7 separate regions of the Homo sapiens genome follow, and all the other regions are linked to region 1. Evidence: promoter capture Hi-C in human tissues and cell types (Jung and others, 2019). All regions are on one chromosome and are shown on one strand. The core of a region is centred on a gene start or on the middle of the fragment in contact, and the rest is flanking DNA. Distances in the headings are between cores, read along the strand shown.

Region 1 (4,197 bases), core at 534-3,033:
GTTTTATTCACTAGACTGACTGAACATGGAATTTCAATACTAACTTGCCACATAACCAAGTTACTCACCTGTCTAGGCCAAAGCAGCCCTTTCTGTACAATCAGAGGAACAGAATGAAACCTCAGTAGGGATCTTCCATCCTGGGGTTTTCTGTCCAGGGAATACACCAGCATTGGGATCTGCCTCCACAATCCTCCCAGGTACGGCCAGTGCCCACTGAGGAAGCCGTGAAGGCATTTTCTGGGAGGCAAGGCCCTGAACCTCCCAGCCCCACCCACCAGCACGCAGGGGGCAGGAGTGAGTGCCCGTGCCGAGGGTCAAGGACCCAGGCTCTGTCTCCAAAGGAAGCGGAGCCAGGACGTTCTGGGGCTGTGACGGGAAGACTCCTGTCCCAGTCCTCACTCTTGCGGAACCAGATGCAGAGAAGATCCTCAACAAACACAGGGTCAGGGCAAGCCAAAGGGACGAGGAGCCGCGGCTGCCGAGGAGGGAAGAGAGTGGCATCCCCAGAAGGAGCGGCACCTTTCCCAGAGGGAGCTCACGCCCGGCCCACTGCGGGCTGGAGTGTCCACCTCTCCCTGGAGTTTCTGTTCTCACAATCAAAACTACCAGAGCCAGGCGCACACGCGTGTCCACTTGCCCGCCCATCCCAGAACACAAGGGTAGATTCAAACATGGCTGGACACTTCGGTGCTACGGAAACATATCCCCTTCTGGGGTCAGAGCACAGCTACTGAGAGCTGTGGAGTCTGTCACAACGCCCACGTCACCCTGAAGCAGCCTGCGACAATGCCCACTGTGGTCAACCACGGGGCTACTGCCTTCGCTGCAGGCCTGGGTTCCGCCCGTTCCTTAGCCACGAAACAGAACTGCACCAGGTTTTACAACTGCGTTTCACAAAGTTTACAAAAATTTAAAGATGTGCACACACCCAACAGTTTATATTTCAATAACAGGTCTGGAGCCTGCCTGATGACTCTTGTGCTCACAGCCACCCATGAGTTTTCCTAAGTCACAAAGGTGGAGCTAAAGGAAGGGGCGGGGACTATCACTGCAGAAAGAAAGAAACAAACATAGCTTTTCCAAACAGTAACTTCGTGTCGCTACGCAGGACCCTTTCCTTTTATCTCAAAATGCTCCCCGTTGGTAAAACCACAGGTGGTGACTATCCAGTTTTAGGGGAGAAGCGCAGTGCCTGCGTCCCGCTTTATCGCTCCCTCACCAGGGGCGCCCCTGCCCACCGCGGACGCAGCAGCCCGGGGGTCCTCCAGGATCCCTCCCCGGAGCCGCCCGCCCTCGGCCCCGCCCGGCTCAGCACACTCACCCTGGGGCGACCACCTGGCCCGGCTGCGCGCACAGCTCCCGCACCACGCCCGCGCGCTCCGACCTCAGCCTGCGTTCCGGCCGCGCGGGGCGCACGCAGCCCCCGGAGGCTACACGGGACTGAGAGGCCCCGGAGGACTGCGCGGAGGCGGCGGCCTCGAACACGGCCAGCACCGAGCCGATGCGCACGGCCGCGCCCGCCGCCACCCTCCACTCCAGCAGGCGCAGCGGCGCGGGCCCCGGGCAGCGCACCTCGGCCACAGCCGCCGTCGGGGCGCCCTCGGCAGGAACGCGACCCGCGGCCGGCACCTCCATCGCGGACAGAGGGCGGGCGGGCGGTCGGTACGGGGCCTGCGCTGCGCTCAGAGCGCAGCGCCTACCGCGGCGACACAACCCAGGCGGCGACGCTGTAGTTCCTCTCGGTACCGGCTTCCACCCGTCGCCTAGCCCGCGCCGACTTCCTGGAGGGCGCGTGACGTCACGCAAGGGCGCCGCGTACGTGCGTACGTGCGCGTGTAAATACGAGCGCCGCGCGGGGCCGGAGCCGGCTCCGTCCTGGGACCAACCCTGCGTGCCGGCCGTGAAGAACTGCGTTCCTGAGCCCTACCTACTTTTCCTCGGAGCGCCGGCACCGTGGAGCAGCGGCATGCAACGCGGGCCGCTGTCGCCCAGTCCCAGTGACGGTCTTGGCGCGCTCGGAACTACGTATCCCGGCGTGCACCGCGGACAGAGCATGGCGGGACTACGAGTCCCAGCGTTCAACGCAGGCCTGCGTGCCATTACCCCATCACGCGCTGAGACCCAGCATCCCGAGACTACGAGTTCCGGCATGCACCGCGAGCCGCTCTCCTCCACTCCCATCGCGCACTGTGAGTCGCAACGTCGCGGGACTACGGGTCCCGGCATGCCTTGCGCGCCGCGGGCCCAGAGACGTGAGGCTGTCGGCGTCCTGGTGGCCCCGCCTCGTGTCCCCCCCCGGACCCCACGCCGCGGGAGCTTGGGGGTTGCGGTCTTCTCTTCCTCCGACCTCACCTTCGATGCGGAAGCGCAGGGGCAGGTGCGCCGCCCTCGGCCCGCGCAGGCGGTGGGCCCGTCTGGGGCAAGGCGCCCGGAAGCGCCTGGTTGGTTCAGAAAATCGGACCGCAGCGGGAGGGCGGGCACCGGCGCGTGGTCTCAGTGGCCCCAGGCGAACCCTGATGAGCAGCAGCCGCAAGTGGCTTACTAAAGGAGCCACTTTCTACGTTTGTCTGGAATTTACGTGAATTAAGCTGGCGGGCGGGCGGCCAGGCCTGTAGTCTCAGCACTTTGGGAGGCTCAGCACTTCGGGAGGCTGTGGCGGGCGGATCACCTGAGCCTGGGAGTTGGAGACCAGCCTGCGCAACGTAGCAAGACCCTATCTCTAAAACAGATTCATTAATACTTAGCCAGGCGCGGTGGCTGAGGTCCCAGCTACTCGGCAGGCCCAGGCTGGCCTGAGCCAGACCGCTCTGGACTGTTTTAATTTTTTCAGCCTTAATACCTGCCAGAATTTTTTTTTTACTATGTATCTTTGTCCTTACGTATATAAATTTTATATACAATTGAGATTATCCTGTATTTGCTTTTCCCCCCTCACTTTTATATGGTGACTTTTCTCATGTTAGGCTGAATACTAACATTTTGGAAACTGTCGGCCTGAAAACGAGCGGAGACACAGTTTCTCTAAGTAGAGAGTTTATTTGGGCCACACTTGAGCACAAATTCAAGGCGCCCTGAATGTGTACTCCGATTAGCAGTTAACAGTGGATTTTAAAGGCAAAAAAGGGGGCCAGGGAGTGGACTAATAGGAACTTGTTTGTGAGGAATTCTCACTGGTTTACAGAAATAACATTGATTAGTGACTGACTATATGTTGTTCAGCTATTGAGTGTGGGTATAGTGTCCATTGTGGCGTCATTAGGTTAATTTATAGCTGTTTGTGGCGCTGTTGCCACCAGTAGCAGTTTAAAGAGGTGAACACAGGTCAAGGGGTAGTAGGGCGCGATTGTCGCCTCATTTGAATGTCTCTCTCGGCCTGATAATTAAAAGAACTCGCGTTCCTCAGATAAAAATTCTCTTTTCTCAAAACCATTTAAATGTGGTAATTAGAATGGCCCAGAAGGGGCACAGTGCCTTTTAGCCCTCGCCATTACTTGCTCTTAGGAGTGCATTTTTTGTAGCTGTGGGTTTTTGACTATCTCTGCTGCTTTCTCCAGCCCCTACCCTCGTGACTACAAGGGAAAACGTGCGGTGCTCACGAGAGAGCCTTTATGGGATTTTTAAAAAATGGGGATTGTGGGAAAATGGCTCCAGCAGTCACAGTTTTTCAGTTTCTCACAATCCCATAAAAACAGAGCAACCAGGTAACAAAACTAAAGCATGGGCAACATTTACAGACCACTGGATGGTGAAGAATTCCCATGAACCCCTGGTTCACACTGTAAGGACACACTACTCAGCATGGGCAACATTTACAGACTACTGGATGGTGAAGAATTCCCATGAACCCCTGGTTCACACTGTAAGGACAGACTACTCAGCATGGGCAACATTTACAGACCACTGGATGATGAAGAATTCCCATGAACTCCTGGTTCCAACTGTAAGGACACACTACTCAGCTGTAGCCTGAAGCCGCCTCCTTACATACTGTAAGTTTAGCCTATAGGTTTCTCCATACGTAGTGAACAGTCATCTAATTGGATGTGTGGACACTGTAACCTACTCTTGAATCAGTCACAGGCAGCAGCACTTCAAACTCTGTTTCAATAAGCCAGACACGAGCTGTAGCCACCCTGCTGTTTGCAGGCCTCACCTCTGCCTTCTGTGCCTCACTCCCTTTTCTGTCCGTAAGTC
Region 2 (4,197 bases), core at 458-2,957, 250 kb after region 1:
GGACGTGGTGGTGCACATCTGTGATCCCAGCCACACAGGAGGCTGAGTGGGGAGGATCCCAGCCACACAGGAGGCTGAGCGGGGAGGATCGCCTGAGCCAGGGGAGGTTGAGATGGCAGTGAGCCAAGATCGCATGTGCTTCAGCCTGGGCGACAGGGCAAGACTCTGTCTCAAAACAAACAAACTAAAAACGATGGGCAGAATAGAAGACTCGTTTAAAGAGGAAAAAGCCCAGGAGGCAGCTTGAATGGAATCAACTACGTAATTTTTAAAAATACAAACACCTAAAATGTTCCTTAGCAAGAACAAGACTACATATTTTGTGACATTGGAAGCTTCATAGTAATTTGAAAACTCAGAAATGGATTTATCCAAAGATGCACCTGGCAGGCTCACCACCCACCTCCGCTCTGTGGGGTTTTGGGCCCTGCGGGTGCCTGCTGGACCCCAACTCAGCCACGACAGCTTCCCTGACAGAGGAATCTCCAAGACGCAGCTTCATGGGCTGTACTGTCAGAGCTGTTTCCCACGTGAGGTGATCAGCATGGACACCCAGTATCAGCTAACGCTGCCAGGCAGAAGGAAAGGCGGCTGGACCCAGGCCTCCACACAGGAAGGACAAGAGCCTCCAGAGAAAGACTTCTCTGCACAGAGCTCGCGGCCAGCTGTGAGTTTCTGGGGAAGGGAGAGGGGGCAGCTGCAGGGCTGGGCAATGAAGGGCCCCTCTGCAGTGGCCACACCTGCTCCTGGACAGGCAGGCACCAAACAAAGTCGCAGATGATGCGAGGCGGTGCCCGTCTCAGGCACCTTGCACCTATCTTTTGCTATGAATTGAAAAAGAAACAAATGAAAAACAAAATTCATGGCCGGGCGTGGTGGCTCATGCCTGTAATCCCAGCACTTTGGGAGGCCGAGGCAGACAGATCACCTGAGGTCAGGAGACCAAGACCATCCTGGCCAACAGGGTGAAACCCCGTCTCCACTAAAAATACAAAAATTAGCTGGGCATGGTGGCGAGTGCCTGTAATCCTAGCCACTTGGGAGGGTGAAGCAGGAGAATTGCTTGAACCTGGGAGGCGGAGGCTGCAGTGAGCCGAAATTGCACCACTGCAATCCAGCCTGGGCAACAGAGTGAGACTCCATCTCAAAACAAACAAACCAAAAACAAAATTCACAGTGAAAAAACTGGGCTCACTGGATTCCCAGGAAAGTTAAGAGACAGAGAAGAGACAGCGAGAGAGAGGAGAGAGGAGGAAAGAAGAAAAGAAAAGCCGCCTCCCCCCACCGCTGGTCTGGTTAAAGGCAGACACATTTCCTAAAGATAAGGCAGTCTAAACCACTCTGCAGCTGACTATTACATAAGAATAAGTTTGTGTAAACGCAGCCACGTGTCACTTTATGACAAGGACACATTCTGAAAAACGCGTCCTTAGGCCATTTTGTCGTCGTGGGAACTCGTGTGAACCGACTCGGTGTGTCCAGTGCACACCCTAGCCACGTGGCGTGGCCCACGGCTCCCCAGTACACGTCTGCACGGCATGTGGCTGCACTGAACACCGTGGGTGACTGCCCCACAGCGGTCACAGTTTGTGAATCTAAACACATTTAAACATGGAAAAGATGCAGTAAAACTACGCTCTCACGATCTCACGAGAACCCTCATAGGTGAAGTCCGCCGTTGACCCGACGCCGCGGTGCAGGACTGCATTTGGCTCTGGAATCATTTGCAGATTTAGTGACACAGTGTGTGCATGGCTTACAGCAAGAATGGTTTACAAAATAAATATCATAATCCAGACAATTAAGATGATTGGTTTTGGTTAGAAATTTTCAGCATGAATTTGGCAGCTCTACAAATCTGTGTCTCTGGTTCAGACAAAAGAGCCCAAATGAGCGGGAAAGGAGCCTGCACTGCTGCGGAGACGGGACCGCTGCTGCCTGCTCTCCACCCCACTCCACTCCGCGTGCTTCCTTCTGGGGGACGACGCCTGGGGCAGCCTCGGGCAGGCGTGCTTCAGTCGGGGGTCTCTGACCAGCCCATCCCCCGGAACGGCAACTCGCTTGCTGAAGCCCTAAGCTCAGGACTGAGATAATTCCAACAACTTCAAACTCATCTTCAACATAAGTCAATTTTTTAAAAAAGTGACACTCAACACAACTGAAAAAATAAAAAAAAAAGCTCGGGTGAAATTTGCATCCAACATCCACCTGGTCTGGATGGTGACCGACGAACGTCCACCCGGTCTGGACGGTGACCGACGCCCACAGAGCCAAAGGGTGTTTTTCTCTGTTTCTCTCTCTCTCCATTTTTTTTTTTTTTTTTTTTGAGACGGAGTCCCGCTCTGTGGCCCAGGCTGGAGTGCAGTGGAGCCATCTCGGCTCACTGCAGCCTCCGCCTCCCAGGTTCAAGCAATGCTCCTGCCTCAGCCTCCAGAGTAGCTGGGAGTACAGGTGCCCACCACCACACCGGCTAATTTTTTGTATTTTTAGTAGAGACACAGTTTCACCATGTTGGCCAGGCTGGTCTCGAACTCCTGACCTCAGGTGATCCGCCCGCTTCAGCCTCCCAAAGTGCTGGGATTACAGGCGTGAGCCACTGTGCCCAGCCCACTGGGTGTATTTCTATAAACATTTTTACAAAATGATACATCTTAAGAAAATGAGACACATAATTTGGTACTTTGTCTTTTCTTTTTCTCTTTTTATTTCTTAGAACAAGGTCTCGCTCTGCTGCCTAGGCTAGAGGGTGTGATCACAGCTCACTGCATTCTCCAACTCCTGGGCTCAAGGGATCCTCCCACCTCAGCCTCCCAAAGTGCTGGGGTTACAGGCACGTATCACCATACCTGGCCTTTTTATAAAAGAAAGATCACATTTTGAGCATTTTAGCTTATTCAGAAACAATCTAATCACAGCATCCCATTTATCACAAGGACCATCCTCATTGTACTGCTGGGCTGTGGGCTGTTCCCCTCTGTTGTTGTAAACGCTGGCAACGCAAACATCCACACAACCAACTCCCAGACCACATCTCCGGTCATGCCCTGAGCGCAGAACCACTGGTCAGAGGCGTGAGCATCGTGAGGCTCCCTGGAGGCACCACAAAGGCCACTGCCAATGGGTCCGGCTCACCCACTAGGGTCCGGGGTGCGCTTGGTCTTTGCCAATGTGATATATCAAGGCAGTTTTCTGGCCTGCTGTTTGCATCTTTACACGATAGTTAAAAACACCAGTGCAAGACTGAAAACAACACATTATATACAAATAATAAAAACAAACACTTCTAAACCAGCAGCGGTAAAACTTCTACAACATCCCCTTGATTTATTTCCTGTTTCTCACTAAAGACACCACAGGGCCTGGCTGACCTTCCAGCCTGCCCACCGGCCCGAGGCCGGCCCCCGCACCGCACAGAAGCCAGACGTCCAGGCCCCCCCAACCCACCGCACAGAGGCCAGCTGTCCAGGCCCCCCGACCCACTGCATAGAGGCCAGTCATCCAGCGCCTGCCCCCACTGCACAGAGGCCAGTCATCCAGCCTCCCCGACTACATAGAGGCCAGCCGTCCAGCACCCCCCCGCCACCCACTGCACAGAGGCCAGCTGTCCAGCCCTGCCACCACACAGAGGCCAGCTGTCTAGCCACCCCCCTCCCCGACTCACTGCACAGAGGCCAGCCGTCCAGCTCCCCCTACACCCACCCCACAGAGGCCAGCCATCCAGCTCCCCCCGACCCCTGCACAGAGGGCAGTTGTCCAGCCCCCTCACTGCACAAAGACCAGCCGTCCAGCACCCCCCCACCCACTGCACAGAGGCCAGCCGTCCAGCACCCCCCCAACCCCACCCACTGCACAGAGGCCAGCCATCCAGCCCCCACACCACACAGAGGCCAGCCGTCCAGCCTCCACCGCACAGAGGCCAGCTGTCCAGCTCTCCCCCACCCGCTGCACAGAGGCCAGCCATCCAGCTCCCCCCGACCCACTGCACAGAGGCCAGCCGTCCAGCTCCCCCCACCCACTGCACAGAGGCCAGCCGTCCAGCTTCCCCCGACCCACCGCACAGAGGCCAGTGGTACAGCCCCCACCCACCGCACAGAGGCCAGCCGTCCAGCTCCCCCCCACCCACCGCACAGAGGCCAGCCATCCAGCTCCCCCCAACCCACTGCACAGAGGCCAGCCGTACAGCACCCACTGCCACAC
Region 3 (4,197 bases), core at 586-3,085, 240 kb before region 1:
GTTCTTGTTCTCAGAGCCCCTCCTCTCCCACAGCCACCTGCCCTCTTGGATTTCTGTCGGGCTCAGCAGTGCGGGGGCCTGGCTGCTTTGGAAAGGGGGGTGCCCTCCCCTCCCAGGTCCCTCGGAATAGGGCCAGCTCTTCTGGGAGGACTGCCAGGCGCCTCTCTCTTATTTGCTGATTTAAAAAACTATTAATGAAAATCTCCTGACACAGGAATGTCTCAGAAGTGCAGAAAATGTTCTTTTCCACCGGACAGATCAGGAGTCACCATGCCCACCAGGTGTCCCCCGTGTCCGCCGACTTCTCCTGACTGAACTTAGAGATCTCATTTCCCGCTGTCTGAGCCACCCCAGGTCAGCCTCAGCCAGCGTTTTCCTTACCCAGCTCCTCCCCGCCACCTGCTCCAATTCCCCAGCACATGTGAGCTGACAGCTAATGGTAGATGGCTGCTAAATTTATTTCAAATTGTTCTGGATACAAATGACAGCACCTTAATTCCCAGACTTGGAGTTGAAGGAACTATTTTCAACTTCAGCATCAGAAAATGCTGGATAAGTATTTACTAATAAGTAATAAGTAGATACTTTTTAATAAAACAAGTAGATATGTCTGCATCTTTTGGTATAAGACAAGTCACATACATTAAAATTTTCTATTTCGTTATGCATTCAAATTAGAGAGATAATTTACATAACATTCAAATTAGAGATATAATTTACATAACATAAAATTCACAATTTTATCACCATTTAAAAGTGCACAGTTCGGTGGTTTTTAGTGTATTTACAGAGTTGTGCGGCCATCACCACTGTCTCATTAGGGGGCCTTTCATCACCCCCAAAGAAACCCCTTCGAACCAGTTTCCTTCTTTTCCCCAAGTTCCGTCTTCCCCCAGCCCCGACGGCGGCTCGTCTGCTGTCTGTGCGCTCGCCTGTGCTGGACACTTCATGGGAACAGACTCATTAGTGTGTGGTTCCCGTGTCTGGCTTCTGTCACTTGGTGTCCTGTTTCAAGGTCCATCCGTGTTGTTGCATGAATCTGCCCTTTCTTCCTTTTTGTGGCTAATACTCCACTGTGCACCAGGCCACGTTCTGTTTGGAAATCTGCCCCCACCTGCACCACGCATCTCAGCTGCCTCGCCTCGTGCCTCTCACCCTGCTGTCCCTCTGCCATCCTCGGGAGCCTCTCCGCCGGCCCGGCAGTGGTAAATGCACGAATTGAGGGTGTTTGGCGTGTACGGTTAAGCTCGCCAGTGCCTTTTTTTTTTTTTTTTGAGACCAGGTCCCACTCTGTCACCCAGGCTGCAGTGCAGTGGCACAGCCATGGCTCACTACAGCCTTGAACTCCTGGGCTCAAGGGATCCTCCTGCTTCGGCCTCCCAAGTAGCTGGGATCACAGGTGCGCACCACCACACCCTGCTAATTTTTTATTTTTTTTGTAAAGATGGAATCTCATGATGTTCAAGACCTCCTGGACTCAAGTGATTCTCCCACCTCAACCTCCCAAGGTGCTGGGATGACAGGTGTGAGCCACTGCGCCTGGCCATGTTTTAGATTTCGATGAAGTCCGGTTTATCTTTTATTCTTCTTTTGTTGCCTGTGCTTTTGGTTTTACAGCTAAAAATTCATTGACAAATCCAATGTCTTGAAGTGTTTCCTCATGTTTTCTTCTGAGAGTTTTAGTTTCAGGTCTTATTTGTAGGTTTTTGATCCATTTTGAGTTAAATTTCGTATGTGGTATAAGGTAAGCATCCAGGTTCATTCTTTTCTCAGAAACTGTTTAGTGAGGATTTTCTGTTAGTCATTTGCCAATTGACTCCTTCCTGGGGAAACTAAAATAGGTCTCCCAGAGATGGACCTTAGACCTGGCTTTCCCAAGTCTCTTAAACCCTCACCTGGCGTCCTGTGTCCGCAGCCCACCGTGCACAGCCTGCCCATCCACCACCTGCCCATGCATGACCCACCTGTCCACAGCCCCCCTGCCTGCCCGTCCACCATCCACCCATCCACCACCCACCTGTCCACCACCCGCCTGTCCATGGCCCCCCGTCCTCCACCCACCCGTCCACGGCCCCCCCCCATCCACCCCCTCACCGTCCACAGCCCCCCTGTCCATAGCCCATCCTGCTCAGCCCCCCTCACTGCAGCCGGGCTTCTTCATGAAATACACATGAGCCCACGCCCCGCTGTGTTCTGGGAGGTGCCGCGTACCATGCCCATCCTTCCTCTGGCCTTGCTTCCTGTGCAGCCCCTTTCCAGCTCGGATGCCGAGCAGCGTCTCACTCAGAGTGAGAGAGGGTGGAGCAGGAAGAGAGGCACAGATCTAGGGTCCAAGGGGATGGGGAGAAGGTGCACAGCCTGGCCACCCCTGCCCTCACTGCACTGCCAGCCCCACAGGCAGCCGGCCCCCGACACCCCTGGCCTCTCTGCCCTCTGATGCCCCCAAGCCCCCCTAACCTCACCATACCCCAACCCCCCCAATCCCTCTATCCTCACCCCTCAGCACCCCCAACCCCCTCGACCTCACCGCCTCCCATCACCCCACCCCTGCAGCCCATGCCCTGGCCCTGCTGCTGTAAGGAGAGGTCAGGTGCGGGCCTTGCAGGCTTCTTGGCAGGTTTGTCTCCGTTCACCTTTTCCCTGCCGCTATGTCCCCTGGACTGCACATGTCCACCTGCCTCCTTTAATTTGCTAATTTCTGAGAGTGCTTATGAGTGTGGTTTCTACAGAATACAGCATCTAGCAAATGACATCGTGCAGGAGGGATGTGGTACGGATTTACTGAGCGGCACCGTGGCCGAGGCGTGTTGTAGAACTCAAGATCAACTCGTTGAATCCCCAGAATGTCCTAGGAGTGGTCTCTGTCTCTTCCTGGTAACATCTGAGGAACAGGAGACCGTGGTTAACCCGAGGGGGGCTGCGCCCCTAACCCAGGCGTCAGATCCAGTGCAGGGCACTCCCTGCACTCTACGGCTTCTCAGAGATTAAGATTAATTTGAAGGATTTTAGCTTTTTTTTTTTTTTTTTTCTTTTCAAAGAGACAAGTGTCTCTGTGTTGCCTAAGCTGGCCTCAACTCCTGGGCTCAAGCGATCCTCCCTCCTTGGCCCCTGAAGAGCTGGGACTGTAGGTGCCCACTGCACCTGGCCTGATGTCAGCGTCTTTTATGTTGAGTTATTATTTGTACCAAGGCTCCTTCAGGGGGGCATGATCAAGAACACATGGCTCCTCCCTGATTTGACCCCTCGCTCAGTTCCCATCTCTCCTCACCGACCCTGACCTCTTACTCTGCTCCCAAGTTCCCGTCTCTCCTCCTCTGACCCTGCCCTCTCCCTGGGTTCCCGTCTCTCCTCCTCTGACCCTCGGCTGCCCCTCACGCTCTTGCTCGGTTCCCATCTCTTGTCACTGACCTTGACCTCTCCCTCGGTTCCCGTCTCTCCTCACTGACCTTGACCTCTCCCTCGGTTCCTGTCTCTCCTCCTCTGACCCTGACCTCTCCCTCGGTTCCTGTCTCTCCTCCACTGACCTTGACCTCTCCCTCGGTTCCTGTCTCTCCTCCTCTGACCCTGACCTCTCCCTCGGTTCCTGTCTCTCCCCACTGACCTTGACCTCTCACTCGGTTCCATCTCTCCCCACTGAGCTTGACCTCTCACTCGGTTCCTGTCTCTCCTCACTGACCTTGACCTCTCCCTCGGTTCCTGTCTCTCCTCACTGAGCTTGACCTCTCCCTCGGTTCCTGTCTCTCCTCCTCTGACCCTGACCTCTCCCTCGGTTCCCGTCTCTCCTCACTGACCTTGACCTCTCCCTCGGTTCCTGTCTCTCCTCCTCTGACCCTGACCTCTCCCTCGGTTCCCGTCTCTCCTCACTGACCTTGACCTCTCACTCGGTTCCTGTCTCTCCTCACTGACCTTGACCTCTCCCTCGGTTCCTGTCTCTCCTCACTGACCTTGACCTCTCCCTCGGTTCCTGTCTCTCCTCCTCTGACCCTGACCTCTCCCTCGGTTCCTGTCTCTCCTCACTGACCCTGACCTCTCCCTCGGTTCCCGTCTCTCCTCACTGACCTTGACCTCTCCCTCGGTTCCTGTCTCTCCTCACTGACCTTGACCTCTCCCTCGGTTCCCGTCTCTCCTCCTCTGACCCTGACCTCTCCCTCGGTTCCTGTCTCTCCCCACTGACCTTGACCTCTCACTCGGTTCCAT
Region 4 (4,197 bases), core at 736-3,235, 220 kb before region 1:
CTGCAGCAAACATAAAAAACCAAACTGAAAGCTGGTTCTTTGGAACAAATCATTAACTGATAAACCAGTGGCCAGAATGACAAGAAAGCACAGATCCCCAGTATTTGGTATGGAAGAGGATATTCTGTAGACCCCACAGGCATCAAAAGAGTACAATGAACAACCTCATGCCCATACATTTGAAAATTTGGATAAAATGGACCAATTCCTTTAACCCAAGAAGAAATAGCTTGAGTATCTCTTAAGTAGATAACCCGTATCTATGAAGGAAGTTGTAGATGCATAATCTAAAGTCTGAAAAGGCTCTTTTTCCAGAGAAGCCAGAAATTGTGTCTGTGTGTGGGTGTGTGTGTGTTTACAGAGTTACCAACTGATTAGAAACAAAGTGTTGAAACTCAAGTGTGAGCTGATGCTGCATGCCAAGTAAAGCCACGGGCTTTGTGTGGGAAGTAGCCTGTCCCTGAAGCAGGCGTGGTGGTGGCTCTCAGGCCTTGAGTCTTGTTCGCAAGCACATCCTGGGAAATCTCAGCCGTGTGTGAGGGTCAGGCGAGCTCTGTTTCCCATCCTGGTGTGAGGGGTCAACCGGAAGCTGCGTGGGGCGAAGGTGACCGGTGGCGGGGTCACCGCGCAATGCTCGGGCGCCTGCTGTGTGCATGGCTAGCGCAGGAAAGGCAGGCGCCTTTGCACCGGGGCTGTGGTCCCAGGCCCGGAGCCCCACCCCAAGTCAGCTGTGCAGCCCTGCCTGGGCCTAAAGCAGGCAGGGGGGAATTCCGAAGCCTGGGCTGACTGCTGGGGTGTGTGAGAGGCCGAGGGGCCTGCACCACCTTCCCCCGGTGCTACCCAGGCACCACCCTGTCTTTTTGTCTGTGGAAGAGACTGGATTTTGTGGAGCTGGAGCTGCATCCAGGGGAGGACACATCCCAGAGAATAAAAAATGGGAGGAAAATGCCCTCTGTGGGTCAGGGCCTTATAATTTAGCTAAACCGACCCAAGTGGAAACAGTCCCAAAGCCTCCTGGTTTTTCCCAGTGGGTGTAATGATAAAGCCGGATTTATGTTCTCAGAGGCCAACAAGATGCTCTAGAGCCGAGCACTGTGGGCTTGGGAGAGAGGAGGGGGTGCAGATGCCGGCTGTCTCCTGCGGGTTCCTAGCTCCAGCCCTGAACACACCCGGCCATGGCTGTGCCTGAAGACTCTCACACAGGGCGGCTACGGCACCCAGGTGCCCACCCTGGCTTATGAGCGGGACGGACGCCCCAGGGTGGGGGAGGGCTGTGTCCTGTCCTTTCTGTCCAGGCAGCGCTCCCCACCCAGGCTCTGCCTCTGGCTTCAGGAGCTGTGGAAGGGTCAGCGGCCGCTGATTTAAACATTTCACACGGGAAAGTGCAGCAGCACTCATGTTCACTGCTAGGCAAGCCAGGGCATGAACACAGCGGTGGGGGAAGCGTGTTCGGACTGGGATGGTGGGTGGCGGCTGCTCCCTGTTCACTCCAGGAAAGGAAGGTTTGCATCTATCACCAGGGAGGGAGGCCGGCAGAGACCCAAAAGCAGCTGCTCTGCTCCACTTGGCTGTGTGCCTGGGGGCACAGATCTGCGTCCTCAGCACCCTCCCAGGCCCGGCCCCTCCCAGAATTGCCACCGCGCACCAGGGGCCCTGACGTCAGCTGCTCGCCCTGCTGTCCCCTGTAGCCTCGAGCTGGTCTCACTGTTCTTGGGCTTGCAGAGCCCCAGCCAGGCGGCAGCTCTTGCGGCCACAGAGAAGTCAAGGGTGGGGGTTGCATGGGACAGGTGGGGTCAGGGTGTGTCCTTTGGCCCCCTGGGGTGTCCCTGACCCCTGGGTCACCCTGTAGACTGGGTGTCCCCTCAACCCCCTGGGTGCCCCCTGAGCCCCAGGCCTCCCCGCCGACTGCCTGGGGGTCCCCTTAGCCCCCTGGGTGCCCCTGAGCCCCAGGTCTCCCCGCTGTCTAAGCCCCAGGCCTCCCCACTGACTGAGCCCAGGTCGCCGCCCTCCCCACCGCTGACCGCCTGCTTGTGTCTCCACAGCATCAAGATGGTGCTCATGTGGACCAGTGGTGACGCCTTCAAGACGGCCTACTTCCTGCTGAAGGGTGCCCCTCTGCAGTTCTCCGTGTGCGGCCTGCTGCAGGTGCTGGTGGACCTGGCCATCCTGGGGCAGGCCTACGCCTTCGCCCGCCACCCCCAGAAGCCGGCGCCCCACGCCGTGCACCCCACTGGCACCAAGGCCCTCTGACAGTGGGGAGGACGAGGATGTGGGACCGCCAGCCGCGGGCACTGGTGGGCCCTGACCTCCCCGCGGGGAGGGTGGGTGCTGTGGCCCCTGCAGGTGTGGCAGAGATGGGGCATGGGCATTGGGGTCTCCATCAGCCTCTGTGGGGTGTCTCAGGGTGGGCAGTGGGGGTGGGGCTGGGACGCTGTTTGTGCTCAGCGGGGACAGCCAGGGTTGATCTGGCCCCGAGGGTTTTGGATGTTTTTAGGATGACATAAAAAGCAAGTGTTTTCCCCATTTCCTCTTATGAAACACCGTCTGAGCCCAAGGTACACATTGGGCGGCCTGCAGGAACCTGCTCCAGGTGGACACACGGGCCAGCAGCCGCGAACCTTGAAGCTGGGGTGACCGCAGGAGACCCTGTAAGGCCTGTGAGCGGAGCCCTCGACCCCGTGACACCCTGGCCAGACACCCTGCTTGGACTGGGGTGGCCTCTGCTACCCAGGGGTCTGGCACGGGGGAGGGCTGGGGCTTTCTCTGCCTGGTACACACGGAAAGGCGGCTGTGCGGACGCAGGGTCACCGTGCTCCGGGTTTTCTGACAGTCGGTGTTTCCTGGGCCTTTGGAGTGGCTGCGAGGCCTGAACGCCTTGTGGATCCGCTGTGTCCAGCCCGGCTGAGCATCGCCAGGGCTAGCTCATGCTGCTCTTGTCAGCCTCTGGTTCTCCTCGAGTCCTTGGGGACGTGGCAGATGCCAGCGACCATCAGACAACGTGGAGGCCCTCATGGGCAATGGCTGAGGGGGCCGGGCTGAGGCTGTGCACATGCAGTCTGCACGCCACTCTTGGGCTCTGCTGGCGGAGATCCCCTTCCTTCTGGGTGCAGACTGCACCTCCGGATGCAGTTTTGATGTCCATCTTCCAGGAGAGACGGTCTCGGGTCCAGGGAGTGGAGGGGGCTGCCCCTGCCGTGCAGGTCCTGGCCGATGGCGCCTTACCCTGCTGCCCTGGGCTTTTGGCCTGAAGCAAATTCCTGAGTGGGGGGTACTGGGGCCTGCCGCATCCTGTCCTGTCCACTGCCCACCCCCGTGTGCTGGCTCCCTCACTTCTGGCTGCAGTGGGAGCCGCCAGTCTGACCCTTGTCACCGCACGCTCTGCCCCCACCCCGTTGCAAGAGGTCACACCATGTCAGCAGCCTTGCACTGACCGCAGCCGGCCCCCAGGCCTCAGAGTTCTGGATGCTTCCGTGCGGCTCCAACAGGCATCGTCTTCCCTTCCGCAGGTGGAGGGGCCGCTTCCCGCAGGCATCTGAGCTCTGTGCCGGGGCCGTGGCCATGGGAAGATGTTCCACGCTGCCTCCTCCTCGAGTTTTCCTCGGAAACACTCTTGAATGTCTGAGTGAGGGTCCTGCTTAGCTCTTTGGCCTGTGAGATGCTTTGAAAATTTTTATTTTTTTAAGATGAAGCAAGATGTCTGTAGCGGTAATTGCCTCACATTAAACTGTCGCCGACTGCAGGCGCAGTGACTGCTGAATGTACCCTGTGTGGCGACTTGGAATCAATAAACCATTTGTGGATCCTGAGTTGGCCTTGGGCAGAGGGAAGGATCTGGCTGTGGTCCTGGCCTCTGCCCAGACACACCCTTGTAGCCTGGGCCACCTTAGAAGGCCCCTGTGTGACCTGGGTTCCTCCAGGGCCCCAAACAACAGCCCAGCCCCCTCGACCTGTCACTGGCCTGTGCCTGTGGGCCGGCAGCCCGGGGGTCCTTTTGGCTCCTCACAGACGGGTCTGGCACTGCCTCTAGCTGCCCTGGCCACATCCGCCCTTCTGCCTCCCACCACCGAAGGCTTAGAGCATGGGAAGGGTCTCCTGTAAAGGCCAAGAGAAGTGTTTCCAGATTTGCGATCTTGGAGCAGCACATACAGATGGAGCTGTGTGTGCATAGCGATTTTTTCTGTGCAGTTTACATTGAAG
Region 5 (3,632 bases), core at 477-2,976, 210 kb after region 1:
GCCTGAGGGGCTCACAGTCTGGTGCAGGTTGCGGTCGCAGCCCCCAGGACCAGGTGGGGTGACAGGGAGCCGGGGAGCCCCTGGGGGCTGGTGGGGCTGGTCAGTGTGCTTGTGGGGACCTGGGATGGTCACCCAGGGACTATGGTGCTACGTCCAGGAGAGAAGAGACGACGGAGGCAAAGAGAGGGAGAACGGGCGAAGGCTGGTGCCCAGGGTGAGCCTGGGGAACCTGGCCTGCGTTGAGCCATGCTGGAGCAGATGGGGGGTGGAGGGTGCAGCCGAGACACTGGGCAGGGGGTGCAGGAGAGATGTCCACGCTGGGCACAATGCTGAGAGGGGAGCCGGGGCCAATCGAGGCAGGAGTGTGGCTGGTAGGACAGGACGGCCGGCTGCCAGGTGGGGTGTGGACTGGAGGTAGCAGGAGCGGCTCAGCCCCACCGGCTTCATGCTGTGGCCACGGTCCTGGGGGCCGCCACCTCCCACCTGTGAAGGGCAGGCACGCTCCCCGCACGCCCCTTCTGCCTCTGAGATACGTGATCTGTGCTAAAGTCAGTGCTGCTCAAACCCACGGTGGGGACTGCCGCATGCTGAGCAAATAAGAAAAAAATTAATGCACTGCTCTGGAAAGCAATCCTTCTCTATAAGGCCTAGGTTTTCTTTAAAACATTCAATTTCTGGTCAACCATGCTTGAAGTTTAATTAGGACTCAATCATTATATTTTCAGAAAAAGATAAAATATTTTCTTCTGTAAGATATATTGTACTTTGTTCCAAGAATGGGCTGGACTCACTAAGTGTGGGCGGCACAGACCACGTAAACCCCAGGGGGGTCCAGAGCGTGAGGCCCTTCCCCACAATCCCGGGGGTCCCAGAGCGTGAGGCTCTTCCCCACAATCCCGGGGGTCCCAGAGCGTGAGGCTCTTCCCCACAATCCTGGGGGTCCCAGAGCGTGAGGCCCTTCCCCACAATCCCGGGGGTCCCAGAGCATGAGGCTCTTCCCCACAATCCCGGGGGTCCCAGAGCATGAGGCCCTCCCCACAATCCTGGGGGTCACAGAGCGTGAGGCTCTTCCCCGCGAGGGCTGGGCTGGGGGCTGCACATCACCCCTGCAGCTCTGTCTCACAGACACTCTTAGGGTACAGCGACTTTACAGCAAAACCCCATTTTCCACATCTTGAGAGGCCTTTCCAGAGCTTGCCTGATAAAAACAAGGAGTCCCAACAGTTTGGTGTGAACGTGGGGATTCAAGGGCTTCCTTAGGATCTGGTCTATTACAAATGCTGTTTACATTCAGAGAAAATGGAAACCTTCCAAAACACCCTGATTTTACTAAGAGAACGCAGCTGCTTTTGCAATTAGCGCCCAGTGTGTAATTTCCCTCTCAGATGACAGGAATCTCTGCAGTTTTTAGAAAAAAAGCAATATAAAAAGATTATTGATGTTAGCTAAGCTTACCCAAAATACAGTAAAATTCAGGATGACCGCTAACTGTCCCCTCCGAGCTGTGGGGAGTGGCCTGTACCCACAAAATACAGTAAAATTCAGGATGACTGCTAATTCTGTCCTCTCCGAGCTGGGGGGAGTGGCCTGTACCCACAAAGGAAGCCGGGGATGGCGTGGGGGACGCCTTTCTCTTCTACTGGTTCAGGGACTGAAGAAACAAACTGGATGGTATTTTCTTTAAGAAAACACCCTAAAGGTTAAAAAGGTAAGATGATTTTTTTTTTTTTTTGTATGAGTGAAAAGGAGCCATTCCCACGGCGGGTGAGGGGCAGGCAGGTTGAGGAGAAGGTGCCCCAGCCTGGATGCCCGTGGTCCCAGGAGATGAAGTTACCCCTGGAGAAGTGTCTCGGGGACGTCCGCCCAGCACAAAGCTCATTCACCATCCTTAAAGACCACATCAGGACTACAGGCTTAAAAGCAAAGTTTATTCCTAAAGGTGCCTGCAAAATAGCTATACCTATTTGCCTTTTCACCGTAAGCAGCTTTAGGGTGCAAATGCACACCAGGACCCCCTCAGTTTTTTGGAGCAGAAGAGCCATGTTTTCCCCTTGGCTGTTATACATTCGCAAGAAGCAAAATAACCGTGACTATCTGAGTATGCAACCCCCGCCCCCCACCCCCAACAGGGATCAAGGAAAATGCATCCGAAGCTTCCCTTTTCCTTTCCTTTTCAGGGCATCGATGGCTCGGTCTCACTAACGGGACATCACACAGTTAAATGTGCAACACGCCACGCTGCTTTACGGCGACGTCGTTTCTGCGTCTTTAGAAAAAGCACCCCACGCGCTCATGTTCACGGCTTACGGTTAGAAAGATGGCGTTACCGTTGGCGGGAAGGTAGGTGAAACGCTGGTACTGGCTTCGCTTTCTCTTCCCGTTGCAGACGTAGAAACTGACGTGAACGGGGCTGGTTATCCTCTGATTCCGAAATGGCGGGATCTCAACCACCAGAGAATTCTACAGGAGAAGGGCACACAGGAGGCACAATCAGCACCGGGCAGGCGATGGCTGCCGCGCCACGGCGGCCACACGGCAACCCCGCGTTTCCACGGCGGCCACACGGCAACCCCGCGTTTCCACGGCGGCCACACGGCAACCCCGCGTTTCCACGGCAGCACAGGACTGCCGTGACGGTAAACTCCCAAGCAGCCACCTGGGCGGTCCAGAAGCAGCTGATGACAGCCCTGGATGCTCTGTGCCACCTGCACACGCGTGTGGACACGCACGCTCACAGGGAAGGGGCTGCCCTTGGCTTCTTGCACACCCAGGAGCCGAGAGGCTTCCTCAGAGCAGCACAGCAGACAAGACCAACCTAAGACTGAAATCTTGTCAATATGGGGAAAGAAGCCAGGAAAAGAGAAGCTGTAAACAGAACTGGGACCGGGTGCCTGAGGGTGGAGGTTGCCCGGGGCCACCTGGGCAAGGGGACTGGCGGGGATGCAAAAGGCTCTGCCTGCTCTGATGCCAAAGGGTTGGTGACCTTCAGAAAACGACCCAAGGCTCCGCCGCCAGCCACTGTGTGATGGAAGTGCTCGGTGGCCCAGCACCTGCTCAGGTGACTGCAGCGAAACCCAGAGGAGCAGGTGCTTCCTGGAGACGCGGTCTCTGGGGAGGGCCTGTGTTTGTCACATTTGACGATGGCCGAGGCCCTCAGTCAGACCCCAAATTCACTCCAACTGAGGAAGAGGAGGCAGGCCCTGACCCCCGCAGACCCCGGGGTGGGAACAGCCAAGGGCACGGAGGCACAGACAGCAGAGGGCGGCGTGTGGAGGCTGCCGTTACCTTCTCATGTTTTTAATGTAACAGCCAGCAGCATGTTTACGAAACTCATGCTCCTTCAAGTATACACATGAAACACAAGCCATGGGACGTGTGGCGCTGTTCGCAGAGGTCGGGGCTGGGTGGGGGGCTGGGACACGGAGACCCCAACCGCGTGCTCAGGCCCCAGCGTTACTCGGGCCCCTGATGACCCTAAATGACTGGGGTGATGCAGGCATCCCTGCCGAGGGCGGCACTTGGTATCTGGGGAGAGGGTTGGCGGGAGTCGCATCTATAAAGTTTCATTTTTATAATCATATGACTTAGTTTAACAAGCAGGAGAAAAATCCATTGTATTACTTCTTTTGTTA
Region 6 (4,197 bases), core at 800-3,299, 200 kb before region 1:
GAGCCCCTGCAGCTTCTGTGCTGTGCTGGGGAGCTGAGCTCTGGCTTCGTGCTGGCAGAGAGAGGTCGGCCTGTGCCACGGAAATTGCAGGCGGGAGGCTGGTGGGAGAAGAGGGCCCAGCCTCCGGGAGGCACTGGGAGAAGAAAAGATGGCAGGGCGGGGGTTGGGATAGAAACGTCAGGACGTGGGGACTGGCTAGACGGGGGCGGGGGACGGTCCCCACCCAGGCACACCCGAGTTGGGGGTCAGTGGGCCGGGCTGCATGGAGCCCTCGTGGACGTGCCGGTGGGGACGCCGGTGCAAGTCTGTGCTAAATGGCAGAAGGGGCTGCAGCCGCCATGACGGGCCCTGTAAACGGCATCATCCACTATCACCAAAGCAAAAACGAAAACATGCCTGCTGGGAACGCTGTGTGCTCACCGGCCAGCGTTTACCCAGGGTACCTGGAAGTGGAACAGCTGGCTTCTAAGACATATAAGCACATCCTCACCTTTACCAGACAGACATGTCTTCACCTTTGCCAGACAGGCCCCTCCTCATCGTTCACTAGAAGCTGCTGAGTTGGTCCCCAAGCAGCCACACAAATTCAGCCCTGTCCCCACCAGACAAGTGTCCCCTGGGTCACGGCCACAGCCAAGGTTCTGGGGCCCAGGGTGGTCCAGGCGGGGCAGGGTATAAACTCGTAAAACTCTGCACTAATATATTTTAAAAGCCTTCAAAGACTGTGTGCACTTTGACCTAGAAATTCTATTTTGGGGAGTTGTCAGGGAACGTCAGAAATGAGCCCAAAGATTTATGCAAAAGGACCTGCTCGCTCATCAGAGCTCAGCTTTATGGGTCTGGACAAATCACGGTCCTGGAACCACCACTACCGCGAAAACGCAGCGCAAAGACGCAGGACAGCTCCCCCAGCTTCCCCCCGCCGTTCCCTGCCTCACAGCCGGACCCCGCCCACCCAGTCTTGGCCCCCAACCCCTGGCTTTCCCAGGTATCCCATAGACGGGATCGCAGCGTGGCTTCCTGGCCTGGCCTCTCCCGCGTCAGGCCCTGCGAGCCCATTCGTGCTGTCCCGGGCACCCACCCTTTGCTGCTTTTCACCGCGCACCGTGGATGCACCGGGATTGATCTGGCACCGGCCGTCGCGGTCCGTGTCGGCTGCTTCCGGGCTAGGCCGTGCTGAATAAAGCCGGCTGAACACTCGCTCTGTACGTGACACACGCTGTCCTTCCCGCGAGTACGTCCTGGGCGTGGGCGCTGGTGTGCGATGAGCGCAGGTGTACCCGGCCTCCGCGTGCCACGCGCAGATGTACCCGGCCTCCGCGCTCCACGCGCAGGTGTACCCGGCCTCCGCGCTCCACGCGCAGGTGTACCCGGCCTCCGCGCTCCACGCGCAGGTGTACCCGGCCTCCGCGCTCCACGCGCAGGTGTACCCGGCCTCCGCGCTCCACGGCAGCCTCGCCACTCCATGGCAGCCTCGCCACTCCATGGCCTGCAGGTCCTGAGCCTTGCCGGCCGCGCACCCTCCTTTGAGCTTGCTGCTCTCGGCTGGTTTTTAGATCAGGGCCCTTCTAACATGTGAGTGACAGCTCCTGTGGCTTAACTCTGTATTTCCCTAATAACAGTTCAGCGCTGTATTTGCCATAGGCGTGTCTTCTTTGGTGAAGTGTCTGTTCAAAACTTTGTCCCTTTTAAAATCAGGTTATTTTCTTACAGTTGAGTTTATACAGTTCTTTATATAGCTTAATTACAAGTCCTTTGTTAGATATGTGATTTACAAATATTTTCTCCCAGTCTGAGGCTTGTTTTTTCATTCTCTTAACAGTCTTTTGTGGACAAAAGTCAAAAGAATTTTTTTAATAGAGATGAGGGTCTTGCTATATTGCCCAGGCTGGTCGTGAACTCCTGGGCTGAAGTGATCTTCCCACCTCGGCCTCTCAGTGTTAGGGTTACAGGCCTGAGACCCCAACTAGGCCAGGAGTTTTAGATTCTAATGAAGTGAAGCCTATCCATTTTCATATTTCATGAATCGCGTATCTGACGCCACGTCTGGGAACTCCTTCCTTACTCTCCATTGGCAAGGCCACCTCTATGTTTTCTTCTACAAGTTTATAGTTTTAAATGTTATATGTTTAGGGCCACGGTCCACCTTGAGTTGAATTTTTGTATAAAACGTAAGGCATGGGTTGTGTTTTTTTAAAATATGGGAGTTCAGTTGTTGTAGCCCCATTTGTTGAAAAGACGATTCTTTCTCCGTGCCCGGCCTTTTCACTTTGCCAAACGCCGGCTGGCCCCATTCATGTGGTTCTATTCCTGGACTGTGTCCACGACCCCACGCCTGTCCTTTCCCCACACTGTCCTGCTGTGGCTTCAGAACAAATCGTGAAAGCAGGCAGTGTCAGTTCCAACTGCTGCTTTTTCAAAACGGTTCCTAGGCCTTTCCATAAAGATGTTACAATCAGCTTGTAAATATTGCAGAAAATGGGATTCTGAATGGGATTTCACTGAATCTGGAGATGGACTATGGGGAGGGTGGACATCTTAGTCACACCGAGTCTTCAGCGCGTGAGCACTGCAGGCCTTCGTTGATTTCAGTCTTTATCAGTAATTATCAGCTGTATTTAGCTGTAATTATCAGCACGTAGATGGATCCTGGACCTAGGCTGTGAGACTTGCATGTAAGCAATTCATGGTTTTTGGTGCTATTAATGAACTTTAAAAAATTTGAATTCCAATAGTTCACTGCTAGCAACTCCCTTAATTTTCTTAAGCTTTGTTGTGGGTTTCCTGGGAATTTCTACATAGGCAGTTCTGTTCTCTTGCTTTCCAATCATACGGCGTGTTTCTACATAGGCAGTCCTGTTCTCTTGCTTTCCAATCGTACGGCGTGTTTCTACATAGGCAGTCCTATTCTCTTGCTTTCCAATCGTACGGCGTGTTTCTACATAGGCAGTCCTATTCTCTTGCTTTCCAATCATATGGTGTGTTTCTACATAGGCAGTTCTATTCTCTTGCTTTCCAATTGGACAGCGTGTTTCTACATATGCAGTTCTATTCTCTTGCTTTCCAATAGTACGACGTCTACTTTCCTTGCTTCACTGCTCTCTCTAGGACTGCCAACAGGTGCTGAAGAGGAGTGGGGAGCAGGCATCCTTGGGTTGGTCCCAATCTTAACGGGAAAACATTCAGTCTTTTGCTATGTATGTTGTTAGCTGTAGGGTTTTTTTGGTAGATGTTCTCTATCAGGAAAAGGAAATTCCCTTCTATTCCTAAATTGCTGAAAGTGCTGTTTTAAAAATCATGAATGGATACTGAATTTAGTCAAACGCTTTTTCTACATCTGTTGAGATGAACAGCTGGCATTTTTTCTTTGGTGCATTAATATTGTGAATTACATGGGTTGGTTTTGAGTATCGAACCAAGCTTGCTTTCCTGAGAAAAACCTCAGTTGGCCGTGATGTGCTGTGCTTTTTATGTCTTTACCAACCCCGATTTACTGATGTTTTGTTGAGGAGTTTCGCATGAGTTCATGGGAGACACTGGTCTTTGTTTTTACTTTTCTTGTCATGTCTCTGGTTTGGTATCAGAGGAGTATTGGCCTCTTGGAATGAGTTGGGAAGGGATCCCTCCTCTTACATGTTTCTGGAAGAGACCATGTAGAATTGGTGTTATTTATTCCTTAAATTTTTGTTAGATTCACCAGTGAAACTACCTGGGCCTGGAATTTTCTTCCTGGAAGGTTTTAAACTATGAATTTAATTTTTTTAATTACCATAGGATTATGTTATTTATTTCTTCTTGAGTGAATTTTGGTGACTGAGCATGTTTTTAAGTTAATTTTTGTCTTATCAAAGTAATTGTACATGTAATTTTTTTTTTTTTTTTTTTTGAGACAGAGTCTCACTCTGTCACCCAGGCTGGAGGGCAGTGGCGCGATCTTGGCTCATGTGATATTCAAAACCAACCCATGTAACTATCCCTACTTCTAAATGCTGATCTGGCCATTTATTGGCATATTAATGTTACACATTTTGGGTGACTTTGTAGAGTTGAGAATCTGGGTCTCCCACACACCCCACCTTCAACCACCATAACTGTAACCTCTTTTCTGCAGACATTGTTACATCCCATTTTTGGGGTAAGATAACTCATGCGCGTTCACAGTGTTAAGAAAATGTGAACATGCTCATTGCTGAGCCA
Region 7 (4,197 bases), core at 621-3,120, 180 kb after region 1:
GGTTGCCTTTTATTTCTGTTTCTTACCTGGCTACACTGGCTAGAACCTCCAGTACAAGGCTGAGTAGCAGCAGTGAAAGTGGCCACCTCTGCATCCTTCCTCATCCTAGGGGAAAAGAAGGTCCTCCGTCTTGGACGATTCAGTGTGATGATCACTGTTTTTTTTTCTGTGTATGACTTTGATCAGGTTAAGAAGTTCCCTTGTGTTCTAAGTTTGTCAAGAGATTTTATCATAAGTTGGTGTTGGATTTTGTTAAATGCTTTTTTTCTTGCATTTATTGAAATGATCACGTGGTTTCTGTCCTTTTTCTATTAATATGGTACATCACATGACTTCATTTTCTGATGCTAAACCAACCTTGCATTACTGGGATAAATCCCACTTGGTCATGGTGTAAAATCTTTTTTTTATGTTGTTGGATTCAGTTTGATAATATTTTGTTGTGGATTTTTGCTCCTGTGTTCATAAAGAATATTTTTCTATAGTTTTTCTTACGATACTTTTGATTTTGGTATTAGGGCTATACTGGCTTCAGTATTAGAAGTGTTCCTTCTTCATTTTCTGAAGAGTTTGTGGAGTATTGGCACTGGTATTATTCTTGTAATGTTTAATAAAATTAACCAGTAAAGCTCTCTGGGTCTGGGCTTTTCTTTGTGAGAATATGTTAAATTATTAATTTCTTTTATTTCCCTGCTATAGGTCTATTATACTTTTCTGTTTCTTCCTGAGTCAGTTTAGGTAATTCGTGTCTAAGAATGTTTCCATTTCATCCAGGTTGTTTAATCTGTTGGCATAAGGTTATAGTATTCCCTTATAACCTTTTGATTTTTGCAGGGTCAGTAGCAATGTCCCCTCTTTCATTCCTAATTTTTCTTGTTAGAAAAACTCATTAAAGTTTTGTCAATTTTGTTGTTTTTTCAAATAACTAACTTTGGTTTTATTGATTTTTCTCATGTTTCTATTTCATTGCTTTTTCTTCTCATCCTCAGCATTTCCTTTTTTCCACTTGCCTTGGGTTTTTTCTCTCCTTTTTCAACATTTTTAAGGAAAAAGCTTAGATTATTGATTTGAAATCCATCTTATTCCTCATATAGGCATTTAAAGCTATAAATTTCCCTCTAAGCACTGCCTTACCTGCATCCCACAAATTTTGATATGTTGTGTTTTCATTTGCATTTAGTTCAAAATATTTTCCAATTTCCCTTATACTTTCTAACTTCACTCATTAATTATTTAGAAATGTGTTGTTTAGTTTCCAAATATTTGTGGAAATATCTGTTGTTGATTTTCAATTGATATCCATTGCAATCAGAATATTTTGAAATTTATTAAGGCTTGTTTTATGGCATAGTAGGAAGTCTATCCTATGTGCACTCTGTAGAGTGTCCTACAGATGTCTTGTAAAGTTGGTTGATAGTCTTAAGTGTTTTATATCCTTTTGATTTTCTGTCTAGTTGTTCTATCCATTAAGAGTGATATACTGGTCTCCAGCTATTATTTTTCAACTATGTATTTCTCCCTTTAATTCTGTCAGTTCTTGTTTCATGTATTATGGGGCTCTGTTATGTGCAAATGTGTTTATATCTTCCTGTTCAATGTATCAGGTTTAAGATCAAAGAGAACATGACTACTGACAGTTCATTGTTTCTAGTAATATTTTTATCTTAGAGTTTAATTTGTCTGATATTAGTGTAGCTACTCCAAATTTCTACATTAACTCTGCCTATCTTTTTCATCCTTTCACTTTCAACCTATTTGTGTCTTTAAATCTGAAGTATGTATTTTTTCCATTATCTCCATATCTCTTTTGATTACTATTGCACAGTATCTCTTTATCATTTTACTTTCAACCTATTTGTGTCTTTAAATCTAAAATATGTATTTTTTAGACAGCATATGGTTGTACCCTGTTTCATTCTGTCTTTAACATCCAGTCTGACAACATCTACCTTTTTATTGGGGTGTTTATTCCACTGACATTTAATGTGATTATTGATACGGTAGGATTATGTTTTCCATTTTGCTATTTGTTCTCTACATGTCTTGTGTAACTTTTGCTGTTGTCATTGTTTCTATGTTCCTTCATTACTGGCTTATTTTGTGTTACACACATATTTTCTAGTGTATCATTTAAGTGCATTTTTTGACATTTTATGTGTGTGTGTGACACACTCACACACATATATATTTTCTTAGTGGTTCCTCTGGAGATTACAACAAGCATCTTAGTCAAAACAGTCTATTTCAGATGAATACTGAGTTCTAATAATATGTAAAGACTTTGCTTTGCTGTAACTTCCTTCCCCACCCCTTCCTTTGTGCTACTGTCACACAAATTGTTATAAGCACATTGTTATCAGCACAGGTTTGCAATCGTGTCTTATGCAGTTTCCTTTTACATCAGTTCAGAGAAGAAAAGTTTAAAACATGTTTGTGCTGTCTTTTTAATTCACCTATGTAATTACTCTCACCAGTGCTTCTTACCTCAGCCTGAAGGACTCCCTTTAATATGTCCTGTAGGTCAGGTCTGTTGGCAACAAATTCTGTGTGTCTTGTTTATCTGAGCACAGCTTTGTTTCTTCATCTCTAAAGATGAGTTTTACTAGATATAGAATTCTTGGTTGACAGTGGTTTTCTTTCAGCATTTTGAATGCGCCGTCCCACTGTCCTCCGACATCCACGATTCACAATAAGCAGCTGGCTGTTAATCCTGCTGAGCATCCCACGTACTGAGAAGCTGTTTTCCTCTCACTGCTTTCGGGATTGTCTCTCCCTTTGACTTTCAACAGTTTGGTTTATGTCTGTGTGTGAGCTGCTTTTAATTTATCCCATTTGAATTTTGTGAACCATTTGGATGCACTGAATAATGTTTTCCATCAAATTTAGGAAGTTTGGGGCCATTATTTCTTCACGTATTTCTTCTAATCATCTCTTTCTATAACTCATTATGCATGTGTATATGTGTTTACAGCATCTCACATGCTCTGAGGCTTTGTTCATTTTTATTGATTCTTTCTTCTTTCTGTTCCTCAGTCTAAATAATCTGTTGATTTTTACGTTTGATTCTTTTTCTCTGCCAGCTCAAATCTGTTGTTCAGCCTCTCTAATGCATTTTTCATTTACTTTTCAACTGTGTAATTTCTATTTGGCTTCTTTTTTTTTTTTTTTAAAAATCTCATTATGGATATTCTCTATCTGGTAAGATATATTTGCCACACTCCCCTGTAATTTTTTAAATACAATTTCTTTCAGTTCTTTGAGCATATTTATTGCAGCTGATTTAAAGCCTTTGCTGGTCTAATACCTGAGCCCTCTCAGGGGCTACAGATTTTTCTTCCTGTGGATGGGACATATTTTCATGTTTTCTTGCATGTACTATAATTTTTTGGTTTACAACTGGAGATGACAACTAATGCATTGTAGCGACTCTGAAATGAGATTCCCCCCCCCCCATCCCCCTCCAAATAGGACTTGTTGTTTCTCGGCTTCCCCTCTCCTTGGTTGTTGCTTATGTGACTCATGACTTTCCTGGACTAATTATCTAGATGCTGTATTCCTTGCAGAATGTGGACACTGAGTTTTCTGTTCTCTCTGTTTTTAAATCTTGTTTCTGTCTTTAAGCCAGGCTGCCTAGGGATCACCCTCTGGTTAGCAGAGTTTAATGGTCTGCTGTTACCAGACAGGAAGTTTCCTTAAATCCTTGAGCCACGAAGCCAGTCTCCTCCCTCTAATCACAAAACCTGTGTGTCAGGACCTGCCTCCCAGCCACAGGCAGCTTTACCTCTCACTTCTGCTTGGTGGGGTTTTGAGGTCAGCCAGAGAAGAGTGGCTGGGGCCCTCTCTGTACCGAAGCCTTCACACATCCATTTTCGTATGTGCCCGGGAATCTCCAAGGTTTTTCAAAGTCCCCGGGGTCACCTGGTCTGGCCAGGCTCTTGTTTGCTCCAATGTCGATCGCAGCCTTGGGGCAGCTCCCATGATCACGACTGCAGCCAACGGTGATTGTGCCTCGGAACGGGCCTTTTCCAGGAGCTCCATGACCAGTCCAAATGCGGACTGCATCCTGGGATGGGGTTTTCAACAGAGCCCAGCTCCTCCACGGTCTGTGCTGTCACCGGCTTTCCACGGCTGTGCGCCTCGGGGCTGGAGCGGCCCCAAGTGAAGACGCTGCCATCCTGTTCTTCCCCCTGGGGCCGC

Evidence for each region. Contacts are between HindIII fragments. The study calls those that stand out against the background at their distance.
Region 2: a fragment that was not itself captured here is called in contact with the fragment with the promoter of CTDP1 in region 1 in 1 of the 25 tissues and cell types used here (dorsolateral prefrontal cortex).
Region 3: a fragment that was not itself captured here is called in contact with the fragment with the promoter of CTDP1 in region 1 in 1 of the 25 tissues and cell types used here (dorsolateral prefrontal cortex).
Region 4: a fragment that was not itself captured here is called in contact with the fragment with the promoter of CTDP1 in region 1 in 2 of the 25 tissues and cell types used here (mesenchymal stem cells and spleen).
Region 5: a fragment that was not itself captured here is called in contact with the fragment with the promoter of CTDP1 in region 1 in 3 of the 25 tissues and cell types used here (IMR-90 fibroblasts, mesenchymal stem cells and spleen).
Region 6: a fragment that was not itself captured here is called in contact with the fragment with the promoter of CTDP1 in region 1 in 5 of the 25 tissues and cell types used here (H1 embryonic stem cells, IMR-90 fibroblasts, dorsolateral prefrontal cortex and 2 more).
Region 7: a fragment that was not itself captured here is called in contact with the fragment with the promoter of CTDP1 in region 1 in 5 of the 25 tissues and cell types used here (aorta, dorsolateral prefrontal cortex, hippocampus and 2 more).

What each region holds. Positions count from the first base shown.
Region 1 is chr18:79,677,389-79,681,585 of GRCh38, reverse strand. It overlaps CTDP1 (CTD phosphatase subunit 1), which reads right to left and starts at 1,783. Exons shown (of 13, transcript NM_004715.5): 1 at 1,325-1,783. The coding sequence starts at 1,638. CTDP1-DT (CTDP1 divergent transcript) reads left to right here and starts at 1,841. Exons shown (of 5, transcript NR_136643.1): 1 at 1,841-2,192. RefSeq lists enhancers at 1-26, 1,642-2,150, 2,151-2,658. The HindIII fragment of the contact is 29,025 bases long and covers 1-4,197 here.
Region 2 is chr18:79,427,350-79,431,546 of GRCh38, reverse strand. The region is part of intron 2 of NFATC1 (nuclear factor of activated T cells 1); the gene reads right to left. Among named protein-coding and RNA genes, the nearest start is that of NFATC1, 34 kb to the right of the region's middle. The HindIII fragment of the contact is 6,613 bases long and covers 1-4,197 here.
Region 3 is chr18:79,921,114-79,925,310 of GRCh38, reverse strand. All of the region lies in intron 4 of SLC66A2 (solute carrier family 66 member 2), which reads left to right. Among named protein-coding and RNA genes, the nearest start is that of SLC66A2, 28 kb to the left of the region's middle. The HindIII fragment of the contact is 7,930 bases long and covers 1-4,197 here.
Region 4 is chr18:79,902,029-79,906,225 of GRCh38, reverse strand. It overlaps SLC66A2 (solute carrier family 66 member 2), which reads left to right. Exons shown (of 6, transcript NM_025078.5): 6 at 2,043-3,806. The coding sequence ends at 2,250. Among named protein-coding and RNA genes, the nearest start is that of SLC66A2, 48 kb to the left of the region's middle. RefSeq lists an enhancer at 1,424-2,059. The HindIII fragment of the contact is 4,811 bases long and covers 1-4,197 here.
Region 5 is chr18:79,466,278-79,469,909 of GRCh38, reverse strand. It overlaps NFATC1 (nuclear factor of activated T cells 1), which reads right to left. Exons shown (of 10, transcript NM_001278669.2): 8 at 2,328-2,460. LOC107985162 (a long non-coding RNA gene) reads left to right here. Exons shown (of 2, transcript XR_001753518.2): 2 at 1-591. Among named protein-coding and RNA genes, the nearest start is that of NFATC1, 72 kb to the right of the region's middle. The HindIII fragment of the contact is 4,601 bases long and covers 1-3,632 here.
Region 6 is chr18:79,880,006-79,884,202 of GRCh38, reverse strand. The region is part of intron 3 of KCNG2 (potassium voltage-gated channel modifier subfamily G member 2); the gene reads right to left. Among named protein-coding and RNA genes, the nearest start is that of SLC66A2, 70 kb to the left of the region's middle. The HindIII fragment of the contact is 7,076 bases long and covers 1-4,197 here.
Region 7 is chr18:79,497,322-79,501,518 of GRCh38, reverse strand. All of the region lies in intron 9 of NFATC1 (nuclear factor of activated T cells 1), which reads right to left. Among named protein-coding and RNA genes, the nearest start is that of NFATC1, 100 kb to the right of the region's middle. The HindIII fragment of the contact is 8,968 bases long and covers 1-4,197 here.